Regions from separate parts of the Homo sapiens genome. Here region 2 is linked to region 1. Evidence: promoter capture Hi-C in human tissues and cell types (Jung and others, 2019). All regions are on one chromosome and are shown on one strand. Each heading gives the region's core, a stretch centred on a gene start or on the middle of the fragment in contact. The rest is flanking DNA. Distances are from core to core; before and after follow the strand shown. Region 1 holds the start of TAGLN3 (transgelin 3). Region 2 overlaps BTLA (B and T lymphocyte associated).

Evidence for each region. Contacts are between HindIII fragments. The study calls those that stand out against the background at their distance.
Region 2: a fragment that was not itself captured here is called in contact with the fragment with the promoter of TAGLN3 in region 1 in 1 of the 25 tissues and cell types used here (aorta).

What each region holds. Positions count from the first base shown.
Region 1 is chr3:111,997,148-112,000,171 of GRCh38, forward strand. TAGLN3 (transgelin 3) reads left to right here and starts at 1,775. Exons shown (of 5, transcript NM_001008272.2): 1 at 1,775-1,967; 2 at 2,274-2,455. The coding sequence starts at 2,276. The HindIII fragment of the contact is 6,637 bases long and covers 1-3,024 here.
Region 2 is chr3:112,491,835-112,494,858 of GRCh38, forward strand. The region is part of intron 1 of BTLA (B and T lymphocyte associated); the gene reads right to left. Among named protein-coding and RNA genes, the nearest start is that of BTLA, 6.1 kb to the right of the region's middle. RefSeq lists a silencer at 290-339. The HindIII fragment of the contact is 3,782 bases long and covers 1-3,024 here.

The DNA of each region.
Region 1 (3,024 bases), core at 525-3,024:
TTTCAAGCTTTGCATATCAAACCAACAACTTCCTTAGAGCCATTCCAGCCATGGAAAAAATTATGTGGTTTCTGTTTGGGACTCCGTTCCCTTAGTCTAAGGTTGGAACTAGCCTTATGGCTCCTCCCCAAGATACCAATGATGACTTCCATAATTCTTCTGTCAATTTCCCTGCTCTAAGCTCTTCCCCTAAGCTCCAAGTGTCCCAACACAGTGCTGCTGTCTTTTGAGCTTCTTCAACTGATGATTCCATGCAGCATCAAGACCTGCCTTAGTCAGCCCTTCCCTTGTCTCTTCCTAAACCTACTGCTCTCCTGAATCTCCTAGTTTTCTGTTTTCAGAGGACTGTCTGCCAGGCCTTCAACGACTGACCGCTAAGTCTTTTTCAGGCAAACCACCCACATATCTCCTAAGTAATTAAATTTTCATTAGTCCAGGCATCAGCCGGTAGGAGATTTTTCTCAATACATGTATTATTTGAGGAGTCATTTCCTGCATAGCTTCTAATCAATTTCCCACAGGGACAAAGATCATCATCCCATGTACCCAGAATTGCTTTATTTAATATGCTTGAGTCAATTTATCAATCTGTTTTCAATGCAAGAATTGTATTTTATTCCTCCTCAGTCCAGTAGTTGGCATAAACACTCAGTAAATATCTGTTGAATGAAGAAATGAACCAAACGAAAAAAAATGTGGAATTTTTCTCATGAAAAACACCCAGAGAATTACACAACACCAATGAGACTCAATCTTTACCCACAAATGGCTTACAGTCTAGGAGGACAAACTGCCAAGCCCTTTAGCTGTTATAAAAATGTGGGGCCAACTTAGAGCTAATGGTTTCTCCTGAGTGCTTGTTTGCCCATGAGAAATATTCAGTTACTTCTGACAATATGTCGGTTGTGCCTTCACGGTCCTTACTTCAGATGAAGTCTTTACATTCTATCAAAACCTTTCACTCTAAGAGTTCTTAGTCGTTGAGTTTTGTTTAATTTATAAAACTTGCCGGGCGTGGTGGCTCATGCCTGTAATCCCAGAACTTTGGGAGGCCGAGGCAGTCAGATCACCTGAGGTCAGGAGTTCAAGACCAGCCTGACCAACGTGGCAAAACCCCATCTCCACTAAAAATACAAAAATTAGCCAGGCCTGGTGGCACACACCTGTAATCCTAGCTACCTGGGAGGCTGAGGCAGGAGAATCGCTTGAACCCAGGAGGCAGAGGTTGCAGCCAGCCGAGATTGTGCCACTGCACTCCAGCCTGGGCAACAGAGCGAGACTCTGTCTAAAAATATATAGTAAGAATTATAATAATAATTTATAAAACTTGTTCTTAGTGTCTTTCAGTTAAGAGTAGCATGAAAAAAATACCTCCCTTGAATAAGTCAAACTGAGGCACAACAGTTTCAGGATGGAAGTTTCTGGGTGAAGTTGGGCTGGCAGCTGAACAAGTAAATGATAGCAGCTCTCAGTCCCTCCCCTCCTGTCCTGCCAGACAGTTGTTACCTCAGGGCAGGGGGAAAGTAGCTTGGCTATTCCCGACAGATGGACAGTTGGTAGAACGGACCCTCCCACAGGCCCTCATCCCCTTGTGCAGCTGCTGGCCTCGTAGACAATCGGCTGTCTCCCCAGAAGAGGGAAAGAATTGTGCAGATGAGAAAGAGGCTCTCAGCGGGAGGGAGGCAGGCGGGCTTGATTGACACAGGAGAGGGCTGGCTTTTTGGAGGGCTCTTAGCAACGGCCCTGGTTGAGCCCCCTCAGCCATGAGAAAATCAAATCAATGTGCCATTCTTCCAGGCGCGAGGCAGCAGCGGCTGCAGTTCAACATGAAAGGAGGCTTCCTCCCTGCCTGCTAATTACCTGCTCTTCCCGATCTCATCGTTTCTGCCTTTGCAAAGTGCTACTGAGAAGGGGGAAGAAACGTCCGCCACCCATCCCCCTTGCTGCCTGGGGGTTCAGACTTGATTGTGAGTCCGTGTTATATCATCTGGTCTCATTGATAGGCGGGATAGGGAGGGGGATTCCAGCCCCCCTGGACCGGCCGGAGGTTTATTCTAGAGTTACTGGCGGGTAGCTGTGCTTTTCTTTCCCGTTTGTAGGTGAAACCCCATTGGCTTCATTGGCTCCTTGATTTAAACCACGCCCGGCTTTCTGCCCTCTTTGCTGCTGCTGGGCCAGGTTGCCCAGCCATATCCCAGCCCCGTCTGCAGGGAGCCGGAGGCTGCTGCTGCTGCTATTGTGTGGATGCCGCGCGTGTCTTCTCTTCTTTCCAGAGATGGCTAACAGGGGCCCGAGCTATGGCTTAAGCCGAGAGGTGCAGGAGAAGATCGAGCAGAAGTATGATGCGGACCTGGAGAACAAGCTGGTGGACTGGATCATCCTGCAGTGCGCCGAGGACATAGAGCACCCGCCCCCCGGCAGGGCCCATTTTCAGAAATGGTTAATGGACGGGACGGTAAGGCCGGCAGCGATCTCGGTTGCTGGGGCGGTGGGCAGGGAAACCCTCCAGGGCCCTTTCTTTTAACGTAAGGCTGCGGGAAGAGCTGCTGTTGCCAAGCTCTATGTCTCACCGGGAGGGGATGAGAATGCCTTTATTTCTTCAGGGTTGGAAGATTTGGGCTCCATGCACTATTCCCTAGCTAGCTTGGGGGTTCTCCACTCACCCTAGCATTACATCTCCCTTCTGAGTTGGCAAATTCGAAGCCCTTTTGATTTTTCTAATGAGAATAGAGATAAGTATGTCCTTGTAATTTCCCCAGCCTTCCTGGTGCATCAGCTCTTCTGGGGCCATTTCTTTCCCTAGGGGATCGTGTTGGTTACACAGTAAAACAAAGAAGGGAGGAGGGGGACTAGCCACCTTCACATTCTTGTGGGAGCCATGCACCCTGGAAGTGTTCAGTGTCTGTTTATTGAGTGGATGCGTTCTCATGAAACTGAAAGGAGTCCTTATTTGTTAACTGCATTTCTGACCAAATGCTCGTGTGTGTTTGAGGGTTTGAGGGCCGCAGGCTCTGTGATTCAAAC
Region 2 (3,024 bases), core at 389-2,888, 490 kb after region 1:
TCTAGGGATCAGCAGTGGTGCATAATAACTAGTATATACACCAGGCAAAAATATATCTATATAATAGAGAGAAGAAAGGCAGCACATCCAATATAAGCATGCTCTTCTTTTATGTGGGAGAGGAAACTCTACAGAAATATATTAACCAGCAAGGCTTGCCTTGGTCAAAACTAGAATATTGAAAAAAACTTTGTCCTTTGATAATTTTCTAAGCTTGCTTTCAGGACTTCTTCATTACATCTCTGCCAAGTCACAAATGTCCCCTTGCAGATCTACCCTACTGGTCACTGACTTTGCTTCTCTAGGCCAGAGGATTCATATGCATTGCACTCCTTAGAGCCCTGTCTACTCTGTGTAACAAGGATGAGTTTCTGGTGGTTTTAGTTGGTCAACATGTAATTATCGCCCTTGAATAGTAAAAGCTTCTAGTCAACTTAATGAGTCCTAAAGAACAATGATTTAGAGAGACTTTGATTGCCTGTTACACATAGGCCCTGTCCTTCAGAGAGGCTAAATTTTCCACCTTTGTCACAGGGATTTCAGGAAGAAACATAGGGCAGCAAATGTAGACAGCATACCTGAGAAGCTGTTGACAGTAGCATCAGTGAGTGCCTCTGGCATTTGATCAGAAACCAACATGAGTATTTCTAAATATTGACTTCAGTGGAAGGATTGTTACTTGTGATGTTCAGATTAAGTGTGGCTTATGTATTATGATTGGAAAGGGAAAGTCCATCTCTACTTTCTTCCCAGATACTTCCTCACATCTCTAATACATTCTACCACAGACATCACACTGAGATTCACTGGCATTTTCAAAGCCCTTGAAGATACTAAACAATACTTATGTGGACAGAATCTGCTAAATGTCTTCCAATATTAATTCTCATCTTCTAATATTATAGAGGAAAATGAAGTGGGGCCATAACCCCCCAGATAAAAATCTCAATGCCCCAGCCTCCCTTGTAGCCAAATACTGGATAATAGGCCATTTGTGATGTGTGTGAGTTCCAGGTTGTGCTTATAAGATGAACATGGTTATCAAGAAGGCAGAAAAAAGAAATTAAAGAGCTCTGCCAGCTAAACTTGATGTTTTCCTGGGACTGATCTAACACTCTTCTGGACTCTGTTCTAAGTGAATCTCAAATTGTATGACACCTCTGCATGCATACACACAGACACATGCTGCACACAAGCCACTTCTTCCATTGAGATAAACATGTAAATCAGGTCCATAACCATGAGAGTATACCAGAAAGGTACAAAATATTGAGCTTATTTTGAGGTAAGAGAATGGAGAGTATTAGAAAAGTGAAGCAAATCGCATATGATACAATTCACTGACACAATACAACTCAAGCGCATGATTCTCAAGCACTATTAGCTTTTCTTGGTGACCAAGGATAAGAGTAGATAATGCTTTTGGCATTTTTCTCACAAAGTCTTCATGACATAAATGCCAAAAGCAATTGCAACAAACTGAAGAACTTCTGCACAGCAAAAGAAACTCTCATCAGAGCAAAAAGGCAACCTACAGAATGGGAGAAAATTTTTGCAATCTACCCATCTGAAAAAGGCCTAATATCCAGAATTTACAAGAAACTTAAATAAGTTTACAAGAAAAAAACAAACAACCGCATCAAAAAGTGGGCAAAGGATATGAACACACAGTTCTCTCTGTTTTTTTTTGGAGACAGAGTCTCACTCTGTTACCCAGCTGGAGTGCAGTGGTGCAACCTGGCTCACTGCAACTTCAGTCTCCTGGGTTCAAGCAATTCTGCCTCAGCCTCCCAAGTAGCTGGTCTTACAGGCGTGTCCCACCACGCCCAGCTAATTTTTGTATTTTTAGTACAGACAGGGTTTCACTATGCTGGCCAGACTGCTCTTGAACTCCTGACCTCAAATGACCCGCCCTCCTCAGCTTCCTGAAGTGCTGGGATTACAGGCGAGAGCCACTACACCCAGCCTAAACAGACACTTCTCAAAAGAAGACACTGGCTGGGCGCGGTGGCTCACGCCTGTAATCCCAGCACTTTGGGAGGCCGAGACAGGTGGATCATGAGGTCAGGAGATCAAGACCATCCTGACTAACACGGTGAAACCTTCTGTACTAAAAATACAAAAAATTAGCCAGGCGTGGTGGCAGCCGCCTGTAGTCCCAGCTACTCGGGAGGCTGAGTTAGGAGAATGGCATGAGCCCGGGAGGCAGAGCTTGCAGTGAGCGGAGATTGCGCCACTGCACTCCAGCCTGGGCGACAGAGCGACACTCTATCTCAAAAAAAAAAAGAAGACATTTATGCCACCAACAAACATAAGAATAAAAGCTCAACATCACTGATGGTCAGAGAAATGTAAATCAAAACCACAAGGAGATAACATCTCACGCCAGTCAGAATGGTGATTATTAAAAAGTCAGGAAACAATAGGTGCTGGCAAGTCTGTGGAGAATTAGGAATGCTTTTACACGGTTGGTGGGAGTGTAAATTAGTTCAACCATTGTGGAAGACAGTATGGCAATTCCTCGATCTAGAACCAGAAATACCATTTGACCCAGCAATCCCGTTACTGGGTATATACTCAAAGGAATATAAATCATTCTACTATAAAGACACATGCACACGTATGTTTATTGCAGCACTATTTACAATAGCAAAGACACGGAACCAACCCAAATGCCCATCAATGATAGACTGGAAAAAGAAAATATGGTACATATACACCGTGGAATACTATGCAGCCATAAAAAAGAATGAGATCATGCCCTTTGCAGGGACATGGATGAAGCTGGAAGCCATCATCCTAAGCAAACTAACACAGGAACAGAAAACCAAACACTGCATGTTCTCACTCATAAGTGGAAGTTGAAAATGAGAATATATGGACACAGAGAGGGGAATAACACAAACCAGAGCCTGTTGGGGAGTAGGGGGAGAGGAGAGGGAACTTAGAGGATGGGTCAATAGGTTAAGCAAACCATCATGGCACACGTATACCTATGTAACAAACCTGTACATTTCTGCACAT